Regions from separate parts of the Homo sapiens genome. Here all the other regions are linked to region 1. The links are contacts of gene promoters, found by promoter capture Hi-C in human tissues and cell types (Jung and others, 2019). All regions are on one chromosome and are shown on one strand. The core of a region is centred on a gene start or on the middle of the fragment in contact, and the rest is flanking DNA. Distances in the headings are between cores, read along the strand shown. Region 1 holds the start of LRRTM2 (leucine rich repeat transmembrane neuronal 2). Region 2 overlaps MATR3 (matrin 3). Region 3 holds the start of SNORA74A (small nucleolar RNA, H/ACA box 74A). Region 4 has its middle 16 kb from the start of SIL1. Region 5 overlaps SIL1 (SIL1 nucleotide exchange factor). Region 6 overlaps SIL1 (SIL1 nucleotide exchange factor). Region 7 overlaps SIL1 (SIL1 nucleotide exchange factor).

Region 1 (3,758 bases), core at 764-3,263:
ACCCTGTAGGAATCGGACTCAACCTTATCCACAGAAAAATGAACAAGCAAAAAAATTTCACAAGACAGTTTATGGAACCAGGTTAAGAAGTTCTAGCCTATTGAGAGAGACTATAGGAAGGATTAAGGTCAGAGGGGGAGTAGCATTCCCCGGGTCTAAACCAGGACTTGTTTCCTTCCCTTCTTTAACCAGCAAGAAGGAACAAAGAGGACGTACTAGTGCAGGCTCATTACTAAGGACTCAAGAGTCTGTTCACTGGCAACTTTGGCTTGGGAATTTCCATTCAGCCTACAAAATGTGTCTAAGAACCACAATGCCAATCTCATCTTCTTTGCTTCCTCTGTCCCTTCACAGGTGTCAGACCTGCCCTGTGGTACGAAGACTCTCAGAGCATTCCTGCTGCCTTCTGTCTCCCTTTGTACTTCGTAGGCATTTTTGCCTCTTGTACTTCTAATTCTACCTTGGGATCACTTCTAGGAGGACTCAAACCACACACCTGCACTGCTGCAGTTTTCATAGCACCTTTACACAGAGCCCTAAGGAAGGGACCTTGGAGTCTCACAGCTCTCACTCCAGCACAACACTACAACAGAAAAATTTTACCCAAGACAATTACTTCTTAGATCTGCCCAGTGGGATGAATCCCTCAGAACCAAAAAGGCCAACGATGTTCTTGTTTCACAGACACCATCAGTAGTTTTAAAGATGTCTGTCCTTAGGTCTGAGACAAGACCCACAAAGGGTAAGTGCCAATGATATGGGAGAAATAGGTATGTTGGGTCAAATCAATAAGGCAAGATGTAGAAAAGGGCTTACCTTTGTCAGGCCTGAAAATATAACATCTAGAAACATCTTTTGCATTTATATAACACTAAACATGGAGCTATACATCCACAACTGAGGTCTGAAAAGTGAAGACACCATTCAACAGGGAGAAACTGGAGTTAGGGCAAGCAAAATCAAGTCAAAACAAAAATCCCAGTCCAAAGCATGAGTGACCTTTTGTATTCACAAGACAGGTTCTAACAACAGCAGTAGGCTCAGTTAAGTCAGCCACTTGGTGGCTGGGAACTAGGGTGCAAATGCTCTATTATTTCAGTGTCACAACCACCAACCTCAGTACCAGCGGAGGCTTTTAGTTATGGAGTAGGTGAGATTCTGAGGTAAAATACAAGGGGCCATGTCAGAATCCAGCTACACGGTATCACTTGTCCTAAATCATCTCTGCTTTGCTGTTAGGGCATGTGCATTAAAATGACTGTATCAACCTGCCTTGTCCTCCCAGGAGGACATTTAAAGATCAACTCAGCATTATTTTTTCAATCAGTATGGCGACAAAACATTGTTATAAAATAGGAGAAAGAGAAATCTTTTTAGAGTTCCCCTGAAATTCTCAAAGAAAAAAATAACCACATGCTTTGTTTTGCAAGCTTCCCCTCCCCCTTTATTCTTCGTTTATAATGTTAAGCTCTTGATGACAAACAAGCCAAGCCCACTTAGCTAGTTTATCAACACATCTAAAGCAAATCATAGTCATACTTTGATTTTAACCAAGCATGACAACAAGGCAACTGAATAGCTTTCCAAACTACCAGTGCAGCGACACTACCTTGCATAGGCTGGTGTTAAATCAGCACTTCATAAATTGTGCAGGCTTCTGCCCATTTAGATGATCTCTCTATGCAGAATCGGCAGTCTAACACTGGCTCTCACAAGCATTAAAAATCATCACTCTGCTAACCCAACTCACTGTTCAGATGGGTCTTCTTGAATGCAGCCTTTATTACAACCTCACTGCTGCTTCCTACACTGAAGGAATATCATGTTTTTAAGTCAGGAGTTCTTCTTTCTCGCTTTATTGTAATCAGGGGGTCCTGCAACGACCCCGATGCTGTTACAAAGCATGGTGCTTTATAACAGTAAAGCTTCTGGAAAACCCAAACAAAAGACACGTCATCCGGTGACGTCAGCCTATATACAGTTCTGTGTGGTCGCAGCACATAAGCAAATCCATTCTTGTGCCGTTTCTCGGAAAAGCTTTTCAGTAAATGCACTCATGCTGCTCCAGGAGCTCTTCTCTGCAACAAGCCACCCATCTGCCATCAACAAGTTAAGACCAAGAGAACTAACGGCTGCGGAAAGGAGACTGAAGCTTTGATTAACCAGCTGAGCAGTTAGAGGTGGAGAAATTTAATAACTTATATTCAAAACTGATTTAGGGATCAGAGCAATCACAGAAAATGAAACCAATGCTTTCCAGAGGGATATCCTAAGGAAAAAACAACTCGTCCTGGTGGATTCAATTTTACTTGGAAAGCCTGGGACACAGAAAACAGGAAACTGGTCAAAGGCTCCTACATGTTAGAGCCTTTTACAGACTCACTGCGTTGAGTCTAACAACCGCGACTGAATGCAGCCTCCAATGTGCTCAGAAGAATGGGTAAGTCTGTGCATTTATATGTCTTGTACATTCAACAAGGAATCACGCTTTTAAAATAAGCTACCGAATTCACATTTTATGAGGGAAATCACCATCATATTTTGGATTTTGAGGTTTAGGTAAAAGCATATATCGATGATGACAGAGACATGTTTTATCTTCTTTTTAAATGGCTTAAGTTTTGGTCCAGTCATACCAATAAGGTTAATTTTTCTGCAGTAAATGAAAAATAAGTTATATGCAGTGAAATCTTTTGCTATAATGTTGGTGGTGGTTGTTTTTTTTAAATAGCCCATATGTTCTGCTGAAAAATATCCTATCTTCTTGTTTTCCTTAAATTATATTCTGCAGGCTTACATTTCAAGTGGCCATTAGGGGCCCCTATGCTGGCAGCAATATATGCAATGAGTATGGTTTTAAAAATGCTGCCTGCCCTGGGTATGGCGTGTCCACCCAAATGCCGCTGCGAGAAGCTGCTCTTCTACTGCGACTCTCAGGGCTTCCACTCAGTGCCAAACGCCACAGACAAGGGCTCTCTGGGCCTGTCCCTGAGGCACAATCACATCACAGAGCTCGAAAGAGATCAATTTGCCAGCTTCAGTCAACTTACTTGGCTCCACTTAGATCACAATCAAATTTCAACAGTAAAAGAAGATGCTTTTCAAGGACTATATAAACTTAAGGAATTAATCTTAAGTTCCAACAAAATATTTTACTTGCCAAACACAACTTTTACCCAACTGATTAACCTGCAAAATTTGGACCTGTCTTTTAATCAGCTGTCATCTCTGCACCCAGAGCTCTTCTATGGCCTTCGGAAGCTGCAGACCTTGCATTTACGTTCCAACTCCCTGCGGACTATCCCAGTACGCCTGTTCTGGGACTGTCGTAGTCTGGAGTTTCTGGATTTGAGCACAAATCGTTTGCGAAGTTTGGCTCGCAATGGATTTGCAGGATTAATTAAACTGAGAGAGCTTCACCTAGAGCACAACCAGCTGACGAAGATTAATTTTGCTCATTTCCTACGGCTAAGCAGTCTGCACACGCTCTTCTTACAATGGAACAAAATCAGCAACTTGACATGTGGGATGGAGTGGACCTGGGGCACTTTAGAAAAGCTAGACCTGACTGGAAATGAAATCAAAGCCATCGACTTGACAGTGTTTGAAACGATGCCCAATCTTAAAATACTCCTCATGGATAACAACAAGTTAAACAGCCTTGATTCCAAGATCTTAAACTCCCTGAGATCCCTCACAACCGTTGGTCTCTCTGGCAATCTGTGGGAATGCAGCGCCCGAATATGTGCTCTGGCCTC
Region 2 (3,758 bases), core at 723-3,222, 430 kb before region 1:
GATTATAGATCAAGCTAGTGGGGTGCTATAACAATGACTTTAAGTCAACTGCACCATATATTGGGGGAAAAAAAGTCAGAATGAGTAACACTGAAAAAGTTGAAAGAGAAAGGACAACATATTTAAAAGGGCATTTTGAAAAAGTTCCCATTTTGCCAGATGTGATAATTAAAGCAAAGGAGAATTAGATTTTCTTTTCAAATGACTATTTCAGAAGTCTAAGCCTAACTCAGAAAAAGAATTTGTTTATGAGGAACACAGAGCAGGATACTGTAGTAGTTGATTTGTCCAAGTCTCTAAAGGGACAGATGTAACATGGGATAATAAAAAGTGAGTTTTGAAGTATGTTTAAGAAAGTTGTGGAAAAGGAGAAAAAAAATGATGAAAAATTTCAGTCATAGTATGAGAGTTTGTGTTAAAGGGAAATTAAAAAAGGAAGAATGAACTAATCTAAAATATGAAACATACTGAAACAAACACCAGGGCTCTACATTAACTCTTTCCCTGTAGCCACAGATAAGGAAAAAAAGAGAATTGTTCAAGAATACATCTTTACTACATACAAATCAGCAATCAAGACAGATGGAGAGCTGAAATCTAGCATCCTGAATGGCAGAGCACATTGACTGCAAAAAAAATACTTAAAACAATTCAACAAAGCAGACAAAAAAAACCTGCTTAAATATATGATTAAGAAGAACATATTGATGCCAAAAACCAACAAGATAATCTCAGTGGATGATAGCTTTGTGGCCAGAAGTAATCTAGGCAGAATATATTAATGTAAAGCCCTGGTTTAAAATGCTCAAAAACAATTACCTTCCAAATAAAGTAAGTGTTCTCAAAAGTTTAAAAATGCTTGATCAACTCAATGTCATCAGACTACAGAATTAGAGTCAAAGATATAGGTAAATAGGCACTACAATGTAAAAGAAATTAGAAGCATCTGTTGAGTTAACTCACCTTATTAGAATGAACTGGCAAATCACATATAGAGCACAGATGGGGATAACCCTTCGGTAAGAGTCCATGGAAGTCTTCAATATTGCTACTTGGAGGAGCGCCTCTCTTTTTCTCAAAGAGAGATCTCTCTTGTAAGGGGCCAGGACCACGTCCCATTCTCTCATACTCACTGTCAAATTTATGATAGTTATGCGAGGTCTCACCAAAAAAAGAATCATCCCTACACCTTTCTCCATCTCTTAATCTGTCATCTTCATAATCCATTCTGTCATAATAACCAGATTCTTGAGAACGACTTCCATGGTCATAATCAAGCACTGGGTTGAGACTAGGACCACGATCATCAAAACTATCTCTTCTAAAGTGCCTTTTTTCTTCCCAATCATCCCTAGGTACTCTGTATGGTGGCTCCCGTGTAGCAGATCTGCCATCTCTACCATAACTCAAGGTAGGGCCTTCTTCAGTTCTCCTCCTTTTAAGCTGTAGAAGGATTTGGGGCAAATTCTCAGGAGTAATCTTGTCCTCTGGATAACGACTCAGTTCATCTAAGTCTCTAGCAGACAGACCAAAGCTGGCCAAAATGTTACTGGCCTGGTCTGCATCTCCACGGTGTTGAGAAGATAAAGGGAGTGGACCTCTACTTCCAATGTTAAATATAGACTGCAAATTATGGGAAGAAGTACTAGCAGAAGACAGTGCACTATGAGCTCCTTGTTGATTCAATGAAGAACTCATTCCAAGATTCATTAAACTAGCAAGGCGTGCAGTACCCTGGTTCATCCTTCCAAGAGATGCTGGCATACTTAAAGACTGGGTAGCAGCAGCAAGAAGGCCTATTCCTGCCGCAGACAGGTCACGCCCATGACCCTGTGAGTCCCTACTGAGAGATGACTGCTGGAATGACTTGGACATTGTAGAACTAGCTCTTGTCTATTTTATAGATTAAAAAAAAAAATTTTTTTAAAGACGGCCAAAAAGAAAGCTCAAACTAGAAAGCTAGGTTAACTTTGCTTCAAAAATGGTAACGCCAAGAAAAAGGATCAATAAGGACTGCAGAATCTTCTTCAAGCTGAGAACCAGCAGACAACTCTGTAGAAAAATAAGCAATTTTAGTCATAAATCCCTTTAAGCAGATGCCGTTTTTTTAAGAAAAAAAAACTTATGCATCATGTTGATTTAAAAAAAAAACATTTAAGATCTCAAACTTACAAGGAATTTATTACATATCTTAAACAGATTCCTGATGTATGCAGAGCCTGCATATAGATATTTAAAAAGTAGTATTTCATGCTAAAGCTTAACTATTAAAGGGACTTTCATACTGAGTTTAAAAACATGTAAATTGAAAGGTTAGATGTCTGAGTACATCAAAATTTCAGTAAAAATATAGATGGGTTTCTTCTTTTAGAAGAATAAAAATACACCCTATAGTATGATGCTTAAGTTCCAGAAGACTAAAAACAAAAAAATCAAGGTCAGCAAGTCAAAGATGAATCAGTTGTACTGTGCTTTGGAAAATGAGACCTATTATCACTATCAGAAAGAACCAAGTAAAATCACAAGTAAATGAAGCTTAGGTTTCAAGTACCTAATGTAAGATATAAGACCAAACATAATAGCTGAGACCTTTATACAGCAAAATCAATTTGAGGTGAAGATAGATGTGAATAAGAAAAATAAGTCATTTCCTATAGTTTTAAGGATTGCTGCCCAAATTTAAGTTATACAACTAATTGCCTTCTTACTGACCATCCTACATCAGGCAGTGTTTACTTCATATCTAGTCTTTTAAAGTAAGGAGAACTAACTCTGGTCAGTACAGGAATAGGAGCCCTCCCAAGAAAAAACCTAGGTACAGGAAATACAGGTGATTTAAAGAAGGGAACTCCCCAAATCAGCATCCATCAGTACTCATTTAATGCTCAGGGCTACAGCACATCTAGAGCACAAAACAGGTAAAAATGAAAATGAGATCTTGGTTACACAGTTTCCTGTAAACTTTTCACAAGAATAGCCCAAATCACCTGGTAAATTTATGTTCTGATTATGATCCCCCAAGACGTGTTTCTAGATGAAATTGTTTTCTTTCTTAAATCATTATTGTTGTACCTCAGAAACTGTCACATAAGAATTTCCAAATCTTTTATATCACGATTGTCATAAAATATTAGTTGAAAGATATACATAACATCTTCAGTGAAACAATTTTATAATCACAACTACATACAGAGGTAAATCTGAAGTTGTTTGGTACAGAATTCTATGAGGCATTGCTTAAATTTTCTATTTTTTGATCACCAATACACTCAGCACTGGTAGCTTAATATGTGAAACTTTAACAGTAAAACCAGACAATATCCAGTAGTTACAAGTCTATTACAGGATCAATTTCACCAATGATAGATTAAAGCAAGGATACAATGGACAAATACAGTGGCAAAGGAAGTATAAAAAAAGTTGCAGGCAAGAAAGATTTAGACTGGATTTTAAAAAATAGATATAATCAAGTTTTAAAAGACACAGAAATGCTATAAGAGGTGGCTGGAGTTACAGGAAGATGTTTTTGCACACCAAGAAAGATGAATTTGAGAAAATACACCAAAGAAACTATTAATAGTTCTAGACAAGATCCACTATGTAAACTACTTAAGCTTTAAGATTAATAAAGACGAGAATAAGTGGACTTCTTCAGATGAAAGTTTCTTTGATATGTCTTATAAATGCCAGACAGAATGGCGGCTGAGATGCTATGTAAATGGTGGTGGACCCTCTAAATTTTCACACATATTTTTACA
Region 3 (3,758 bases), core at 765-3,264, 400 kb before region 1:
TGATAAGTGCAGACTGCTATTCTTTCTTAAGACCTCTCCCTTTGGAGCACATTAAAAGTGGAGAGAACTGCTGTAAGTAACCCATGCAAAAAAACACATAAACAAATCCCAAACACACAAAAAACAGACTATTTTTACTACTGGTTAATTTCTTGCAGTCACCTTAGTGCCCTAAAAGATGAAGAGTATGATGCTCTAAGGCAAAGCTATTGATAACATTAAACTTTTCAGAAAGACACATTGCTATTGGCTCTGAACCTGTCACTAATGAGCTGTTCAACTTTCAAGGCCTGAATTTCATTCTCCAGGACAGAGGTTGGCAAACCATAGCCTATGGGCCAATTCCAGCCTGCTGTTTTTGTATGGCTCTCAAAATAAGAATGGTCTTTAAATTTGTAAATCATTGAAAACAATTTTGACACTGAAAATTTTATGAAATTCTAATTCAGTGTCCATAAATAATGTTCTATTAGAACTATAGACTTGCTCATGTGTTGATATTGTCTAAGGCTGTGTTTGCACTAGAGCTGCAAAAATAGTTGCAAAAACCACATGGCTGAACAAGCATAATATTATATTACCTGGCTCTTTACAGCAAGTTTGCTGATCCCTGCTCTAGAACAGCAGTGCATAATAAACTTTCTGAATTGGTGGAAATGTTCTCTAATATTGGAGTTGTCCAATAGGGTAGTCAGCAGCCAGATTCTGAGATTAAGAAATTGATTAATTTTTATCAACTTACACAGCCACATGTAGCATATACCTACTGCACAGCAGAGCTCCAGAAAAGTGAGGGATGGACTTTAGATCCTAAGAATTCTCTAAAATTCTGATACTTGGCTGGGCGCGGTGGCTCATGCCTGTACTCCCATCACTTTAGGAGGCCAAGGCAGGTGGATCACGAGGTCAGGAGTTCGAGACCAGCCTGACCAACATGGTGAAACCCCATCTCTACTAAAAATACAAAAATTAGCTGGGCGTGGTAGTGCACGCCTATAATCCCAGCTACTCAGGAGGCCGAGGCAGGAGAATCGCTTGAACCCAGGAGGTAGAGGTTGTAGTGAGCCGAGATTGCGCCATTGCACTCCAGCCTGGGAGACAGTGAGACTCCGTCTCAAAAAACAAACAAAAAAACCTGTAATCCCAGCATTTTGGGAGGCCAAGGCAGGCAAATCGCAAGGTCAGGAGTTTCAGACCAGCCTGGCCAATATGGTGAAACCTCGTCTCTACTTAAAATAAAAAAATTAGCCTGGCATGGTGGCAGGTGCCTGTAGTCCCAGCTACTCGGGAGGCTGAGGCAGGAGAATCGCTTGAACCCAGGAGGCAGAGGTTGCAGTGAGCCGAGATCGAGCCACTGTACTCTAGCCTGGGCAACTGAGCAAGACTCCGTCCCCCCCCAAAAAAAAGTCTGATACTCTACATAATTTTTCACATCATAATTTTAAGTCCCCTACCCCCATCTGAGCTATAGTAATTTAATTGGGACCTACATGACAAGAAGACTACATACGTTACTTATCTTGGTGTCACACAGGGCTGTCAGACATCTGGGGTCCTGATGGAGGTAGATGTCATTCAGGTGAAGGCATCTAGGATTCAAAGAGGTAAAGAATGACAGGCTGTCCCTAAGACAACCTGTCTTTTTCTGCAAACAGAAAAAAATTGTTTGCACCCAGACTAGGATCAACTCCACAGGAGTCATTCCACTCTCAGAGGTGCAAAACACTGCCCAAAGGTACTCAGCTACAACACCAAAACAGTGCTTGGAGCCAAACCTCAATAAAGACAGTGTTTGCTCTTCCAACAGTGTAACACCATCACAGGCACCACATGAGCCTGGATAGCTGACAACCGCTGGATGATTCCTGAAACAGCTTTCTCATTATTTGTTTCAGATACCTAGGCACTCCAGGTAGAAGACGTATCAGTTGAATATTGACTGCAAAACAGGCGTGGAAGCACTAATTGCAGACCCTGTTGTCAAACCCTTTAACAGGAATCCCCTTCTGTGTTTTCAGTTGTTTTATGCAACATTCAGGGAGGTCCTGCCATGTGCCAAGCACTGCGATTGGGATCTAGCAGTGAATAAAACAAGATATATTGTCCTTTCCTTCATGGATCTTACAAATACAGGTTAATTTACCTCCCATTTGTTTCCTGATAGATACCAACTAGCCCACAGGCCTGGCACAGAGGAGGTAGTCAATGTTGGAATGAATAGGGATATTTACCTGAAAACTGCACATGCAGACTGTCACCTGCCACTATTTCCTCCCTTCAGATGGGTGAAGGATGCCCTACTTTCAAGTCATCCTAAAAAGGAAGACAAGCAAACTTAGTGATCTAGTACACAGAATATAATAAATAGCAATGCATTGTGTGTGTGTGTGTATATATATATATATATTTTTTGAGATAGGGTCTCACTCTGTCTAGACTGAGTGCAGTGGCATGACCATGGTTCACTGTAGTCTCAATCTCCTGGGTCAAGTGATCCTCCCAGCTTAGCCTCCCAAGCAGCTGGGACTACAGGTGCATGCCAACACACCCACCTAATTTCTTTTTTGTTTTTTATAGAGATGAGATCTCTTTCTGTTGCCCAGGCTTGTCTCAAACTCCTGGGTTCAAATGATCCTCCCACCTCAGCCTCCCAAAGTGCTGGGAATACAGGTGCGAGCCACCGTGCCTGGCCTGTATATTTCAAAATTGCTAAAAGATACTAAATGTTTTCACCACAACAAAATATAAGTATGTGAGGTGCTAGATGTGTTAACTAGCATGATTTACTCATTCCACAATGTAAACATGTATGAAAACCTCATGTTGTACCCCATATAACATATACAATTACTGTCAATTAAAAAAAAAAAAAAAAAAAGACGAGCAGACATGATATATTTCCCATGAATTTGAATGTTTGGCACCCTGGTCTAAAATAGCAGCTCCTAAGGACCCTTATCTGGAGAGATGGAAATAGAATGCTGCTTGCCATTTACCCCAATTTCTATAGCCTCAGGAATTATTTTATTTACCATTATTTGCCTTTTCCCTGCCTATAGTACTATAAAGCTAACCATCCCCCAAGCCCTACAGATATCACTAGCCTTAAGACCCCATATGTAAAAGGCTATTCACAGTTGAGGCATTCACACAAAGCACTCACATTTAGTTGAGAGAATCCTATTAAGGGAATGCCAACTGATCTAACAAAACAAGCTTTGATAAACAACTCCCCTGCCCCCCAACATCCTCCCCATTTCCTCCTGTGGAAACTAGTATGTCACTTTTCACAGCAACCGAGGGTCATCTCTTCTCAAAAGATTAGCATTCCAGGCCAGGCACGGTGCAGTGGCTCATGCCTGTAACCCCAGCACTTTGAGAGGCAGGAGATCACTTGAGCCCAGGAGTTCGAGACCAGCCTGGACAACGTCGTGAAACCTTGTCTCTACTAAAGCCTGGGCAACATAATGAGACTTTGTCTCTACAAATTAAAAAAAAAAAAATTATCTGGTTGTGGTGGCACACACCTATCATCCCAACTACTTGGGAAAAAGCATTCCAAAACAAAATTACTACAAAGGGAACTCAATATCTACCACTTTAATGGGGCAACAACTGTTCATTTCTGAAAATCAGTAAGCAACTAAAGCAAATATACTGTCAGCCCAAAGGAGAAATTAGTGTGGTTGTAGTTGTTCAGTTCCCAGAGCCCCCTCAATCAATATTTTAATATTTTATTAAACAGCTAGAGAATGCCC
Region 4 (3,758 bases), core at 726-3,225, 340 kb before region 1:
CCACATGGCTGCAGAGTGATCTAAGATGTAAACCCAGGCTATTTCCCTATTTAAATTGTTTAATGGATCCTTAATTGGTGTTTCTCAAACTTGGAGTTCCTGGATCCCTTGGGGACACATTCTCAGGTGTCTTGAGTAAACTTTAAGAAGTTTACTGGCTGGACACAATGGCTCACGCCTGTAATCCCAACACTTTGGGAGGCCGAGGTGGGAGGATCACTTGAGCCCAGGAGTTTGACACCAGCCTGGGCAACATAGTGAGGCCCTGTTTCTATTTTAAAAAGAAAAGAAAAGAAAAAAATAAGGAGCTTACTATTTGTTTTAATTTCAGGATTAATCTTTTGTTTTGTTTTTTTTTTTGAGACAGGGTCTTGCCCTGTTGCCTAGGCAGGAATGCAGTAGCAGGATCATGGCTCACTGCAGCCTTGACCTCCCCTGCTCAAGTGATCCTCCTGCCTCAGTCTCCAGAGTAGCTGGGACTACAGGCACAGCCACACCTGGCTAATTTTTGTATTTTTTGTAGAGACGTGGTTTTGCCATGTTGCCTAGGCTGGTCTCGAACTTCTGAGCCCAAGTAATCTTCCCACCTTGGCCTCCCAAAGCGCTGGGATTACAGGCTGAGTCACCATGCCCGGCCAGGATTAATCTTAACAAAATAGTAATAACGACATAAGCATAGTCTGTAACACCGGATGACCTTATAACCAAGCACTTTCAGGAAATTTTAGTGCCTTTTTTTTTTTGCACTTGTATTATGTATTGATTGGGTTGGTGCCAAGTGATTTTCTGAAATGACAGCATTTAACTTTTAATGCTGCAACTATTTTCATCTCATTATTTACAGATATATCTGCAGCACCTAGAACAACAGTGCACATCGTAAGTGTTCAATAAAGACATGTTGAATAAATGAATGAATGAAGTTTCTCAAGCTAGGTTCTGACATCCTTGGGGCTCTTCCACAGTTTGAAATCGCCTCAGTATGGCACGTGAGGCTCTTCACAATTAAGCTGGGAATACTCAACCAGTAATTTTCCCAGACAGTCTGGGCAGGATGCGGGGGCGTAGTCCTCTTTAGAAAATAAAAAAAGTGAAAGTATAAAGCATTTATGTACATTTTGACAGGGCAGACGTGATATGCAAATGGATTGCAAATATAATGCAAATGACATGCAACTCCTCATGCAAATGAGCATCCTGTCTTTGGAATCGACTGCCGGGTATTCACTGATTTGTCTGCAGTACTGGCAGTAAATCTTTCAAGGGTTTGGGATGCAAGTTGCTTTGATGGTGATGTGTGTGTACTAGGGAGGAGGGGTAGTGGGATGGGGTCTCTCAAGGAGGAGTCGGTGTGGTGCTAACGCTTGCAGCTTAGTATGAAGCTTAATACAGTATACAGTTTAATATGAGGTTATTCTCCTGTGATGCTCTAAGGACTGACATTTCGGAATTGGTGGCGGGTGGTGGCAATGAAATGCAACTTCTTATATTCTTCAACTCTTTGGTTGCCTCACATCTTCTGTCCCATCCATCTCACATCATTGGGGTTCTGGTCCACAGGAGTAGAGAGTAGGGAGTCAGAGATCCCTAGCCCCAGGCCCTCATCATGAGGACTACAGAAGAGCTCTTGTAAATCATTTCTGGAGGAGGTTATGAGCATGGTGTGGAGTTCTGCACTTCCTAATCACATGACAAGCAGAATTTAGCTGAATTTCTAGGCCTGTTAGAAAAAGATGAGTGGTGACAAAAAGCATGGAGACTTTCTGAGAAATATAGCTGCTTAATCTCAATGCCAATAATGTGATATCTGACAAAATTGGGAAGCTTACTTGGAAATCTAAAGGGAAAAAATGTCAACTATGATTTTTTTCTTGATAAAAACCTGTTCTTCCTTGTCCTTGGTGTGAAAGGAAATTTGTGGTTACACAGACTCTTCCCCAATGATTATAAAAATATTGGGCAAATGATGCAAAAGACGCTTTAGCAGGTATATTTTAGCCTAACTCAAGATCTGTTTTTCTCTGACACTTTGCATCAGACCTGGGTTCAAACACTCAATTTTCAGCTATATAAACTTGGACAACTTATTCAACTTTTCTGAGCTCAGTTTCTGCATCTGTAGGGGAGTAATAGAATAATAGAATCCTTATGAGGCTGTCGTAAAGGTCACATGAGATAATGCATGTACTTAACACAGTGCCGGGCTCATAGTGAGCATTCAATTAATATGGCAATTTGCAATGACCATCTGTAGATTTGCTGCCTAGATTCCATTCATCCTCCATCTGATAACTGTACCCCATTTCTTCCTGGTGAACCATCATTTTCTTTTCATTCCATGTGGTCCTAATGAAACTGACTCCATCCTCAGCATCAGGAGTAGAACATGTGGCGTAAGCTGGGTGCAGTAGCTCACACCTGTAATTCTAGCACTTTGGGAAGCTGGGCCAGGTGGATCACTTGAGGCCAGAAGTTTGAGACTAGCCTGGCCAACATGGCAAAACCCTGTCTCTACTAAATATACAAAAATTAGCTGGGTGTGGTGGTACATGCCTGTAATCCTAGCTACTCAGGTGGCTGAGGCATGAGAATCACTTGAACCTGGGAGGAAGAGGTTGCAGTGAGCCAAGATTGTGCCACTGCACTCCAGCCTGAGCAACAAAGTGAGACCCTGTCTTTAAAAAACAAACAAACAAGGCCGGGCGCGGTGGCTCACGCCTGTAATTCCAGCACGTTGGGAGGCCGAGGCGGGTGGATCACGAGGTCAGGAGATGGAGACCATTCTGGCTAACACGATGAAACCCCGTCTCTACTAAAAATACAAAAAATTAGCCGGGCGCGGTGGCGGGCGCCTGTAGTCCCAGCTACTCGGGAGGCTGAAGCAGGAGAATGGCGTGAACCCGGGAGGCGGAGCTTGCAGTGAGCAGAGATCGCGCCACTGCACTCCAGCCTGGGCGACAGAGCGAGACTCCGGCTCAAAAAAACAAACAAACAAACAAACAAAAAAGAACCTGTGACTTAGGTTTAAATCATTCATACCATTCTATTCTTAGGCCACAGTGATTGGTTCAAGAATGGGGACATACACAGAGTTACCGTACAATCCAGCAATTCCACTTCTAGGTAACCTTGTATGATCAACACTCAGTGTATGCAAAGGATTAGTTCCAGACGCCCAAGTACACCAAAATCCATGCAAACTCAAGTCCTGCAGTTGGCTCTGCAGAGCCTGAGTATACAAAAAGTCAGCCCTCCATATACTCAGGTTTCACATCCTGCGAATACTGTATTTTCAATTTGCATTTGGTAAAAAAAATCTGCATATAAGTGGATCCTTGCAATTCAAACTTGTGTTGTTCAAGGGTCAAGTGTATATGAATGCTCATAGCAGCATTATTCATAATAGTCAAAAAGTGGAAGCAACCCAACTATCTACCACTTGGCATCAGAATGCTGCTATGAACATTCATGTACAACTTTTTTATATTCATACAATGGGCTATTATTCAGCAATAAAAAGGAATAAAGTACTGATTCATGTTACAACATGGATGAACCTTATAAACATTATGCTAAGCGAAAGAGGACAGACACAAAAGGCCATATATTATTTGATTCAATTTATATGAAATATCTAGAATAGGCAAACCTGTGGAGACAGAAAGATTAGTGGTAGCCAGGCACTGGAAGGAGGGGGAATGGGTAGTGGCTGTTACTGAGTATAGGGTTTCTTTTTTTTTTGAGACAGGGTTTGGCTC
Region 5 (3,758 bases), core at 687-3,186, 320 kb before region 1:
TCATGAATACATGTGCTGTTTTAATGAAATTGGCAATAGAAGAGACGTTCTGCTCCCATTTTACAGGTGATGGAAATGTTAGTAGGGATGCGGCAGTCCAGGAATGAAAAGTTGCCTAGTACTTTGATTCCCACTTACTTCCCCTTCCCTGCTGTTTTCTGAAGGCCAGCTATTACTTCTCTACTGAGGCCAACTGTGAGCCCTGGTGTGTTTCATTGGCAGGAGAAGAGGCTAATTAAGTGAAACTGAAAGGTAACAAAATGGATTTTAAAATAACTGACATGTGGGAACTTGATCCACCAATGAATGTTCTCCTTTAGAGTGATGTGTGCAGGTGTAGGTGGTGGGAGTTGAGGATGGCGTGCCTAAGTGATTTGGCTGTTGTCCAAGGCAGTTTTGAAAATCCACCTCTGGAATTGTTTTCAGAGACCTTTTTGAACCATGCGAGAGATCAGTTTCTTTAATATATTAAACCATACTGTATTATTATTATTATTATTTTTCAGATGGGGTCTCACACTGTGGTTCAGGCCGGAGTGCAGTGGCATAATCATAGCTCACTGCAACCTTGAACTCCTGGGCTTAAGTAATACTCTCACTAAAGCCTCCTGAGTAGTTGGGACTACAGGGGCGCACCACCAGGCCCAGCTAATTTTGTAATTTTAATTTTTGTAGAGACAGGGTCTCGCTGTGTTGCCCAGGCTGTTTTTGAATTCCTGGCCTCAAGCGATTCTTCTGTCTTGGCCTCCTAAAATGTTGAGATTACAGGCGTGAGCCACTGCACACAGCCTATATATATTTAACCCCGAATGGCATGGGTAAGCAACCTTGTCACCTGCCTTGTCTTCAGATGAGTTAACAGTTCTTTTGAAGTGGAAATAACAGATTTTTGGAGGGTGGTGAACATGAGTTTTAATTCTGAGTCTACCACTTATTAGCCACATAACCTTGGATAAGTTACTTCACCTCTGGGGCTCAATGTACCACTACATAACAGTGGGAATAGGGCCGGGCATGGTGGCTCACGCCTGTAATCCCAGCACTTTGGGAGGCCAAGGTGGGCGGATCACGAGGTCAGGAGATCGAGACCATCCTGGCTAACACGGTGAAACCCCGTCTCTACTAAAAATACAAAAAATTACCCGGGCGAGGTGGTGGGTGCCTGTAGTCCCAGCTACTCAGGAGGCTGAGGCAGGAGAATGGCGTGAACCTGGGAAGCGGAGCTTGCAGTGAGCGGAGATCACGCCATTCACTCCAGCCTGGGCGACAGAGCGAGACTCCGTCTCAAAACAAAACAAAACAAAACAAAAAAAACTGGGAATAATATTTACTTTGAAGGGTGGTTAAATGACGTATTACACATGAAAGCTCTTGGGACATAGGAATGCAATAAATGTTTTCACCCTCAAAGAATGAAGATTTGCCGTTAATGAGAATATTCAAAAGAACATGAGAGTCTCTGGCCGGGTGCGGTGGCTCACACCTGTAATCCCAGCACTTTGGGAGGCTGAGGTGGGTGGATCACCTGAGGTCGGGAGTTCAAGACCAGCCTGACCAACATGGAGAAACCCCGTCTCTACTAAAAATGCAAAATTAGCCGGGCGTGGTGGCGCATGCCTGTAATCCCAGCTACTCGGGAGGCTGAGGCAGGAGAATCACTTGAACTCGGGAGGCGGAGGTTGCAATGAGCCGAGATCATTGTGCCATTGCACTCCAGCCTGGGTGATAGAGCGAGAGATTCTGTCTCAAAAAAAAAAAAAAAGGCTCTGAAAGGAAGTTGTACCTTTTTCGAAATAGGTGGATTCTCTTTTTCACATACTTGTGGATTCATACTCTGACCTGCTCAGCCTCCCCCTGTCTTTCTTCATTCATTTTCTGTCCTTTCCTAAGTGAAGTTTTGCTGCAGAGGCTGTCTGCCAGTCTCTTGTAGTAAGCCTCTTTTCAGGAGAGCTAATCTGAACTCTCTTACAATGCTAGTCCCTTAGTCGCTATTCCTAGGGATTTTTTTCTGGGGGCTCCAGATGGTGCTTGGATCACGCTCTGTAGCACAGCCATCTCTAACTCCTGGATTTGGTGTCAATTTGGAGACCCATCCTGTGGAGCTAATCTTCTCTCTTTCTGAGCAAGGATGAATACTTTATCCTTTTCTGAGTCGGCCTTAAACTGCAAACCTTAGTCTTCTACAGCAGAGAGTCTTGTATTTTAATTATACGTAGACTAAAGACGGAATAGCATGCCCTTTTCTTTTCTTCCTTTACTTTCACCAAGGATTTCACTGCTGAGTAGGGGAGTAGGAGAATAGCCTGTTGCCATTCAGAGTGAGGCCTTGGGTAACCCCTGATTCCTAGCATAAGCAATAACTGAGTTCATCTTTGGGACAAAAACCTTGTAAAAGATTCGGGCTGCTCAGACACATGTGGAGAACCTCAAGCTAGGAATTTTCCTAGCTTGTGAGGAGTTTACACCTGGCATTCTTACTTTTGCAAATTTGTACCCAGAATCCAGTAGCAACAAAACTATATTCAGCCCAGACTTGTAGTTCCTTCAGGTTCCACCAGGCAGCTGTAAGACATGGCTGTGATTATGCTGGCTGGCCATGTTTGCCTTCATCCTCCTAATACTGCCCTTGGCTTTGGTATTGAGAAGGAAGTGGCATAATCAATTCATGAGTAACATTCTCTGCCAAAGTGGAAATCAGGGGCAGAGAGTTGTGAGCATAGGACTAGACAAATGGAAAGAGCCAGCCTTGCCTCAGGAATGCTGCTAAAGTGCTGTGAATCCGTGACAACCACTGTGTTTCTTGGTGTCACCTCATTTGTGAAATGGGAATGCCTTCATTGATCTCTCTCTTGAGAAGAGTGGACCACCATGCCAGTTTTCCCAGGACAGAGGGATATCCGTATGTGGGACTTTTAGTGCCAAAAGCAGGAAAGTCCGGGGCAAACCAGGACAAGTTAGTTACCCTACCCATGACCATTATACAAGTTAATGAACACTGTGCCCTTAGGGTTCATCTAAGACTCAACCCTTTGGGTTCATCTAATTATTTTTCAACCTTTTGTTCATTATCATATTTTGAGACTTTTTTTCCCTTAATTGTCTACTCCCCAGTGGAATGTTTTTTTGAGAGGGAGTCTCACTCTGTCGCCCAGGCTGGAGTGCAGTGGTGTGATCTCTGCTCACTGTGGCCTCTGCCTCCTGGGTTCAAGTGATTCTTGTGCTTCAGCCTCCTGAGTAACTGGGATTATAGGCGCCCACCACCATGCCCAACTAATTTTTGTGTTATTTAGTAGTAGTTTTTGTGTTTTGCCATGTTGGCCAGGCTGGTCTTGAACTCCTGGCCTTAAGTGATCTGCCCACCTCAGTCTCCCAAAGTGCTGGGATTACAGGCATGAGCCATCGTGCCCAGCTACCCCCAATGGAATTTTAATACCACAGATGTACTGTGTATCTGTTTTTGTATTGTGGCCCTTTGGATGGCCACAAACCATTGTAATATCTAACTTTTTTTCCCCCAAGAATCAATTTTCACCCCTTCTGGGCTGTTACTGCACTCACTGAGAATGCATGGTCTTATCTGATATTCTTTCTTTAATGTAGTCATCAAGGCCAGTTTTTTATCCAGAAGAAACAGCTAGTACCACAAGCTTTTTCGTTTCCTTTCCTGTTTTTTTTTTTTTTTTTTTTTTTTTTTTGAGACTGAGTTTCGCTCTTGTTGCCCAGGCTGGAGTGCAATGGCGTGATCTTGGCTCACTGCA
Region 6 (3,758 bases), core at 915-3,414, 290 kb before region 1:
AGTCCTAGGAAAGGTACCTGGCATATAGTAGATGATCAAACAACATTTGTTGAATGAATGAGCTGTGAATGAGAATGTGTTCTTTTATTACGCTGAACCTGGGTACACAGGTGTTCACATTCACATTCCTACTGCTTTGTTCCTTAAATAAATGTAATCAAGATGATTTTCTTTCTTATTCATTAACTATTGTGCTCCTCCACTCCCATTAATTGGAACAGTCTGTGGAGAGGCCATTTTCCCCTTCCTTCGTTTTATGTGGCTCTCTTTCTTCCTAGCATTTTGTTACTGGAAGGGGGAGTTTGTGGTTGCTAGGCTTTGAGCATTGATTTTTAGGATTTCTGTCATAAGGAAGCAAGCTTTAGTGAATTGGTTTGGAATAAAACAAACACAAAAGCTCACCAGGAATAGCAAATTTATCTCACTCTGATTTTTTACTGACATTTTTTGTAGTACTCCCTAAGTTCTTAGATAAGGTCATTAGACAGGAATTGACAATGGCCAGATAGAAACAAATTCACAGAATGTGAGTGGGTGGCAGGGTGAGACATGGAGAGGTCAGAGGGGATAGTGCTTCTCTTTCTGGTAGTGGCCTGGTTTTTCATGGCAAATATTGGCCAGTGTAACTGTTCTCCTTTCGTAGGGCCTGTATGTTTGGGAGCTGTAGAGACTGTAGGGGGACTGCTCAGTGCTGGTGTGCCCACCTGGTAAGGCCTAGGCAATCCTAATTTTTTTTTTTTTTTGAGACAGAGTCTCTCTCTGTTGCCCAGGCTGGAGTGCAGTGGCATGATCTTGGCTCACTGCAACGACCACTTCCCAGCCTCAGATGATCCTCCCACCTCAGCCTCCCAAGTAGTGGGGACTACGGGAGCGTGCTACCATGCCCAGCTAATTTTTGTGTTTTTAGTAGAGATGGGGTTTTGCCATGTTGCCCAGTCTGGTCTCAAACTCCTGGACTCAATCTGCCCACCTCAGCCTCCCAAAGTGGTGGGATTACAGGCATGAGCCACCGCACCTGGCCAGCAATTCTAATTCTTTGCTTTTCTAGGGAAGTGCTCCAAGCTCCTGGGAGTAAGGAAGATGTGGGACTCTGGTCACTTTTGAAAACGTTTGAGTCCTAAATGTTATTGGTGCTCAAAGACCTGGTTCTTAAGATAATAAAATCCCAGGGATGGATATGAGAAAGAGAGAGTGTCTAGAACAGGGTTAGCCGACAGATGTTCATTAGCTTTCCCAAAAACAATTCTTTGTGTGTTGAGAACTGTAGCCCTGCAGATACTGGTCTCTACTCATGTCTAGGGCTCCTTTTTCCCACCTGAAGCTGGCTTCTCCTTTTCCTTTTCTCAAAGCACATGGTTACCTTTAACCTGACTTAGATGTTGTCTACTCTTCACTATACGGCTCTCAAATGAAGGATATTGGACAGCCTGCTTGTTAGCTTTCTCCTTCATTTCCCTTATTTAAAGATTTGGCCTTGTGGCTGACTGAGGGTATTTGGTTATTCTTTTTTTTGAGTCAGAGTTTCACTCTTGTTGCCCAGGCTGGAGTGCAATGGCGCGATCTCAGTTCATCGCAACCTCTGCCTCCCAGGTTCAAGCGATTCTCCTGCCTCAGCCTCCTGAGTAGCTGGAATTACAGGCATGCGCCACCATGCCCAGCTAATTTTGTGTTTTTAGTAGAGACGAGGTTTCACCATGTTGGTCAGGCTGGTCTCAAACTCCTGACCTCAGGTGATCCACCCGCCTCAGCCTCCCAAATTGCTGGGATTACAGGCATGAGCCACCGCGCCCAGCCTGTTATTCTTGTTACTATTAACTTGCTTTAGTTACTGACTATCCCCTATCCTTCTGGAATAGTCTTTATGTTTAAACTTATGTAGAAGTCCCCTTTTAGTGAAACTCTTGCTACCCCCACCCTTTTTTATTTGTGATGGAGTCTTGCTCTGTTTCCCAGGCTGGAGTGCTGTGGCATGATCTTGGCTCACCGCAACCTCCACCTCCCAGGTTCAAGCAATTCTCCTGTCTCAGCCTCCTGAGTAGCTGGGACTACAGGTGTGTGCCACCACACCCAGCTAATTTTTGCATTTTGAGACGGGTTTTCACCATGTTAGGCTGGTCTCCAACTCCTAACCTCAGGTGGTCTGCCTGCCTCGGCCTCCCAAACTGCTGGGATTATAGGCATGAGCCACGACACCTGGCCTCGCTCCCTTTTTTATGCAAGAATTTCAGCTATACACCAGCAAGACAGGGATTTGAAGGTTCTAGTAGTTACCAGAAGGTAGTTTTTTGGTAGAACAGCTTTTTGGTAGAGTGGCTCTCTCAACCAACTTTGGGCTCAAAAATCATTATTAAGGCTCTGCTCACTTCTTTTACTGCCCCTTTTCAGTGCTAAATGATGATCCTCATTCCTTTAATCTTTTTTCACTTGCTCTGTTTCCTGGCCCCTGTGTTGTTTCTGCAGTTCTTCAAAGGAGTGTTTTCTTTCGGAAGTTTTCACAGCTGTCTTCTGGCTAGGGTTGTAGGTAATATGTTAGGCTCCATCTCTTCTACTCCTCCAGGCTATAACTTTTGTGTGTGTGTGTGTGTGTGTGTGTGTGTGTGTGTGTGTGTGTGATTGTGGAAATGTGATTGGGATGGGTAAAATGCACAGTTAGGCTCTCCCACCCCACTGTGACTGTCATTTGTGAATCTGTGTCATGTAATGGTACCTCAGCCAGGGTCCCCAAACTTGAGATGCTCTTGACCTTCAGGGATGGTAATGGCCTGCACTTCTGTGATGCCTAATGAGGCTGCCTTTAAAAGGAAATTTTTTTTTAGGTTGAGGGTTTTTGTTTTGTTTAGAAAGTAAACATACTTGCATCTCTTTTTATTTTGACTTGCATTGATTTCCTCTTCTTTCTTAAATCCTGAGTAAGAACTTCAAAATCAGTTGCCAACCTTTGTGTTCACAAGAATTGAGTGGATCAGCCTCTGTATTCTTCACCTGTGCACCTGATGGACTAATATACTGCTGTGGGGGAAACAGCTTCCAAAGGTCTCTCTTCTCTTACACATGCACACACACACAAGCACAACTGTGTTATAAAGAATAGGCACTTCTCTAAGAGGAACTTGTCCTGCTTCATGCAAATACCCTCCATTGCAGCAAAATTCTGGAAACTTTGAAAGAGGTACAATTAGTGATTTTTTTTTTCCCCAAGAAGCCTCAAAGCTCTTAAAATAAATCTTAAAAAATCTGGTACTCAGAGCTTCAGCTCAGAAAGCAGACAAATTGCAAACCTGGTGCAATAAGACTCTTCTCTCCTCTGATCTTTTTCCGTTTTCTCTCAATTTATTTTAACATCCCCTTTCATGGTCTTACGTTTCAGAAACTTGATTCAGTCCTTCCTTGCCAGCTCCTGGCAGGACAAGCAGCAGGGCTTCCGGCCCTAATTTATGGTTTATATTTCTTCTCCATCCCCTCTTTGCTGCCCCAGTTCTTTACCTCCTCACATCCTGCTGGCCTTTCTTCCATCAGAAAGGACAGTGTCATGTGTGACATGTTGCTTTGGAATTGGATGGCATCAGTGTTAGCCTAGTGATTTGGGTAGAATTTGGGAAACTGTTTTGCGCATGTGCTGCTAAATGAGGAGATGGGGCCTTTTTTTTTTTCCCTCTCTCTCTTTTAGTACCATCTTTCTTTCCCCTTGTCCCCTGTAGCCTCCATTAGCCCTGTTGCCAGGGGGAATGGGAAATTCTTTACCATGATTAGTTCTAGGG
Region 7 (3,758 bases), core at 922-3,421, 270 kb before region 1:
CACCCACATTTTATAAAAATCCACTTATCTGTGATGGCTGTTTGAGTCATTTTCATCTTTTGGATATAGTGAATAATGCTGCTGTGAACATTCACATGCAAGCATCTGTTTGAGTCACTGTTTTCACATCTTTTGGGTATCTACTTAAGCAAAGAATTGCTGGGTCATATGGTAATTTTATGTTTAGCTTTTTGAAGAACCACCAAACTTTTCCATAGCAGCTGCAACATTTTATACTCCCACCAGTGATGTATGAGGGTTCCAGTTTCTTCACATCTTCACCAACACTTGTTATTTTCCTTTTCTTCAATAATTATAACCATACCTAGTAGGTGTGAAGTGGCTTTGATTGGCATTTCTCTAATGATGACTAATGATACTGAGCATCTTTTCATGTGCCTCCAGGCCATTTGTACAATGGAGAGATGTCTATTCAAGATTATTGCCCATTTTAAAATTAGGTTGTTTGTCTTTCTGTTGTAGGAGTTGTTTCTGTATTCTGGATATTAAACCCTTATCAGATGTGTGATTTGCAAATATTTTGTTTCATTCCCTTGTCTTTTCATTCTCTTGATCGCGTCCTTTGCACAAAAATTTTAAAAATATTTTAATGAAGTTCAATTTATTTTTCTTTTACCACCTGTGATTTTAGTGTAATATTTAAGAAATCATTGCCGAATCCAAGGTCATGAAGGTTTTGCCCATGTTTTCTTCTAAGAACTGTATAGTTTTAACTTTTTTTTTTTAGATGGGAGGCTTGCTTTGTTGCCCATGCTGGAGTGCAGTGGCTCAGTCTCAGCTCACTGCAACCTCCACCTCCCGGGTTCAAGTGATTCTTGTGCTTCAGCCTCCCGAGTAGCTGGGACTAAAGGTGCCCGCCACCACGCCCGGCTAATTTTTGTATTTTTAGTAGAGACGGGGTTTTGCCATGTTGGCCAGGCTGGTTTCGAACTCCTGACATCAGGTGATCTGCCTGCCTCAGCCTCCCAAAGTGCTGGGATTACAGGTGTGAGCCACCGCACCCTGCCAGTTTTAGCCTTTTAAATTTCGTCCTTTAAAAATCCCTTTTTACTCAATAACACTTTTGTAAAAATCAGTTGACTATAGAGATGTGAGGGTTTAATTCTGGTCTCACAATTCTATTCCATTGGTCTATATGTTTATCCTTACATCATTACCACACTTTTGATTACTCTAGCCTTATGGTAAGTTTTGAAATTGGACTTGTGGAATTCTCCAGCTTTGTTCTTTTTTTCCCCTCAACTTTGCTGTTTTTTGTTTTTGTTTTTTTAAGAGATGGGATCTTGCTCTGTCACTCAGACTAAAGTGCAATGGCACTGTCATAGCCCACTGCAGCCTTGAGTTCCTAGCCTCAAGCAATCCTCCTGCCTCAGCCTCCCAAGTAGCTGGGATTACAGGCATGAATCACTGTGCCCAGCAGTTTTGTTCTCCTGCTTCAAGATTGTTTTGGATATTCAGGGTCCCTTGAAACTCCATGTGAATTTTAGGATGGGTTTTTCCATTTCTGCAAAAAATCCACTGGAATTTTGAAAGGGATTGCGTTGCATCTGCGTATTGCTTTGGGTAATACTATCATTTTAGCAATATCATATCTTTGAATCATGAACCTAAAATGACTTTTTATTTATTTATGTGTTGTACAGAAAAATTGAAATGGAGATCTTCTTTTATTTCTTCAGCAGCGTTTTGTAGTTTTCAGTGTAAAGTCTTTTGCTTCATTGGCAAAATTTATTCCTAAGTGTTCTTTTTGATACTGTTTTAAATGGAATTGCTTTCTTAGTTTCCTTTTTGGATCGTTCATCTCTGGGATATAGAAATACAACTGATTTTTGTGTGTTGGTTTTATGTCCTGCAACTTTACTGAATTTATTAGCTCTAACAGGTTTTATTTGTGAAGGTTTTCTATGCATAAGATCATATCATTGGCTGGGCGTGGTGGCTTATGCCCGTAATCCCAGAGCTTTGGGAGGCTAAGGTGGGCGGATTGCCTGAGGTCAGGAGTTCGAGACCAGCCTGGCCAACAAGGTGAAACCCCATCTCTACTAAAAATACAAAAACTTAGCCATGTGTGGTGGTACATGCCTGTAATCCCAGCTACTTGGGAGGCTGAGGCATGAGAATCGCTTGAACCCAGGAGGCAGAGGTTGCAGTGAGCCTAGATTACGCCCCGCTACTCTAACCTGGGCAACAAGAGCGAAACTCCATCTTAACAAAACAAAACAAAAAACCATATATATATATATATATATATGTGTGTGTGTGTGTGTGTGTGTGTGTGTGTGTGTGTGTATATATGTATATACACATGTGTATATACATATGTGTGTATATATGTGTTTATATATGTATATATACATATATGTATATACATTTATATGTGTATATACACATATATATGTATATATCATCTGCACATAGAATAGTTTTACATCTTCCTTTCCAATATGGATGCCTTTTATTCTTTTCTTGCCTAATTGCTCTGGCTAGAACTTATAGTATTATGTTGAATAGAAGTGGTGAAAGTGGGTGGCCGGGCGCGGTGGCTCACGCTTGTAATCCCAGCACTTTGGAAGGCCAAGGTGGGCGGATCACGAGGTCAGGAGATTGAGACCATCCTGGCTAACACAGTGAAACCCTGTCTACTAAAAATACAAAAAAAATTAGCCAGGCGTGGTGGCGGGCACCTGTAGTCCCAGCTACTCAGGAGGCTGATGCAGGAGAATGGCGTGAACCCGGAAGGCAGAGCTTGCAGTGAACCGAGATCGCGCCACTGCACTCCAGCCTGGGCAACAGAGCGAGACTCTATCTCAAAAAAAAATAAATAAATAAGTAAAAGAGGTGGTGAAAGTGGGTATCTTTGTCGTGTTCTTGGTCTTTGGGGAAAAGCTTTCAGTCTTTCACCATTAAATATGATGCTAGCTGTGGGTTTTTCATATATGCCTTTTATTATGTTGAGGATGTTCTTTTCTATTCCGGGTTTATTGGGTATTTTTTATTATGAAAGGATATTGGATTTTGTCAGTTGCTTTTTCAGTATCCATTGAAATGATCATGTGGTTTTTTTCCTTCATTCTATTAATGTGGTGTATTACATTGATTGCATTTCATATGTTGAGCCACTCTTGTATTCCTGGGATAAAACACCACTTGATCATGTTGTATAATTCTCTTAATATGCTGCTGAATTTTGGCTTGCTAGTATTTTGTTCAGGATTTTTTGCATGTATATTATAAGAGATATTGGTCTGGAGTCTTCTTATAGTGTCTTTGTCTTGCTTTGGTTTCAGGGTAATGCTGACTTCATAGAATGAATTAGGAAGTGTTTCCCTTCTCTTTGGTTTTTGTGAAGAGTTTGAGAAGGATTAGTGTACTGCTACCCTTCTTAACAGGCACCTTGCTGGCCAGTAAGTGCCTGTTAAACTCCTACCTTTTTGGAGCTTTGGCTTTGAAGTTGGGCCAGGTGAACTTTTCCATACTTTTTTGTTTTGACACTTCCATCTTGGCCGCCTGTCTGGGCAGCCAGCCATTCTGATTATGCAGCCTGGAAACTGCCCTTACAGGGTCAAGTTGCTAAGTTGGACTTTAAGACTGCGGCTTTTTCCATGTGTTCTCTGTTTCCTTTGGCTGATGAGTGTATGGTCTGATCTTGGGTTTGCTGAACAAGAACAAGGCCTCTGAGCCATTCAGGAGATCAGAACAAGTCAGCTGATAAGGGAGTAGGTTCTGTGCTGAAAATA

The links. The method cuts DNA at HindIII sites, captures the fragments that hold promoters and counts their contacts. A contact is called where the count stands out against the background at its distance.
Region 2: a fragment that was not itself captured here is called in contact with the fragment with the promoter of LRRTM2 in region 1 in 1 of the 25 tissues and cell types used here (aorta).
Region 3: a fragment that was not itself captured here is called in contact with the fragment with the promoter of LRRTM2 in region 1 in 1 of the 25 tissues and cell types used here (dorsolateral prefrontal cortex).
Region 4: a contact is called between a fragment that was not itself captured here and the fragment with the promoter of LRRTM2 in region 1, in 2 of the 25 tissues and cell types used here (IMR-90 fibroblasts and hippocampus).
Region 5: a fragment that was not itself captured here is called in contact with the fragment with the promoter of LRRTM2 in region 1 in 1 of the 25 tissues and cell types used here (hippocampus).
Region 6: a fragment that was not itself captured here is called in contact with the fragment with the promoter of LRRTM2 in region 1 in 2 of the 25 tissues and cell types used here (aorta and heart left ventricle).
Region 7: a fragment that was not itself captured here is called in contact with the fragment with the promoter of LRRTM2 in region 1 in 1 of the 25 tissues and cell types used here (hippocampus).

Annotation. Positions count from the first base shown.
Region 1 is chr5:138,873,590-138,877,347 of GRCh38, reverse strand. It overlaps LRRTM2 (leucine rich repeat transmembrane neuronal 2), which reads left to right and starts at 2,013. Exons shown (of 2, transcript NM_015564.3): 1 at 2,013-2,440; 2 at 2,792-3,758. The coding sequence starts at 2,437. All of the region lies in intron 7 of CTNNA1 (catenin alpha 1), which reads right to left. The HindIII fragment of the contact is 3,441 bases long and covers 1,679-3,758 here.
Region 2 is chr5:139,305,533-139,309,290 of GRCh38, reverse strand. It overlaps MATR3 (matrin 3), which reads right to left. Exons shown (of 15, transcript NM_018834.6): 2 at 964-2,052. The coding sequence starts at 1,875. Among named protein-coding and RNA genes, the nearest start is that of MATR3, 14 kb to the right of the region's middle. The HindIII fragment of the contact is 3,519 bases long and covers 213-3,731 here.
Region 3 is chr5:139,276,882-139,280,639 of GRCh38, reverse strand. It overlaps SNHG4 (small nucleolar RNA host gene 4), which reads right to left. Exons shown (of 7, transcript NR_182757.1): 4 at 2,232-2,313; 5 at 1,511-1,589; 6 at 582-705. SNORA74A (small nucleolar RNA, H/ACA box 74A) reads right to left here and starts at 1,860; the gene lies at 1,661-1,860. LOC124901081 (a long non-coding RNA gene) reads left to right here. Exons shown (of 4, transcript XR_007058956.1): 3 at 1-72. It also overlaps a transcript of MATR3 not described here. The HindIII fragment of the contact is 3,306 bases long and covers 362-3,667 here.
Region 4 is chr5:139,212,699-139,216,456 of GRCh38, reverse strand. No RefSeq gene overlaps it. Among named protein-coding and RNA genes, the nearest start is that of SIL1, 16 kb to the right of the region's middle. The HindIII fragment of the contact is 3,462 bases long and covers 245-3,706 here.
Region 5 is chr5:139,192,935-139,196,692 of GRCh38, reverse strand. The region is part of intron 1 of SIL1 (SIL1 nucleotide exchange factor); the gene reads left to right. Among named protein-coding and RNA genes, the nearest start is that of SIL1, 3.6 kb to the left of the region's middle. The HindIII fragment of the contact is 8,977 bases long and covers 1-3,758 here.
Region 6 is chr5:139,158,998-139,162,755 of GRCh38, reverse strand. The region is part of intron 1 of SIL1 (SIL1 nucleotide exchange factor); the gene reads left to right. Among named protein-coding and RNA genes, the nearest start is that of SIL1, 37 kb to the left of the region's middle. The HindIII fragment of the contact is 5,569 bases long and covers 1-3,758 here.
Region 7 is chr5:139,141,859-139,145,616 of GRCh38, reverse strand. The region is part of intron 1 of SIL1 (SIL1 nucleotide exchange factor); the gene reads left to right. Among named protein-coding and RNA genes, the nearest start is that of SIL1, 55 kb to the left of the region's middle. The HindIII fragment of the contact is 4,818 bases long and covers 1-3,758 here.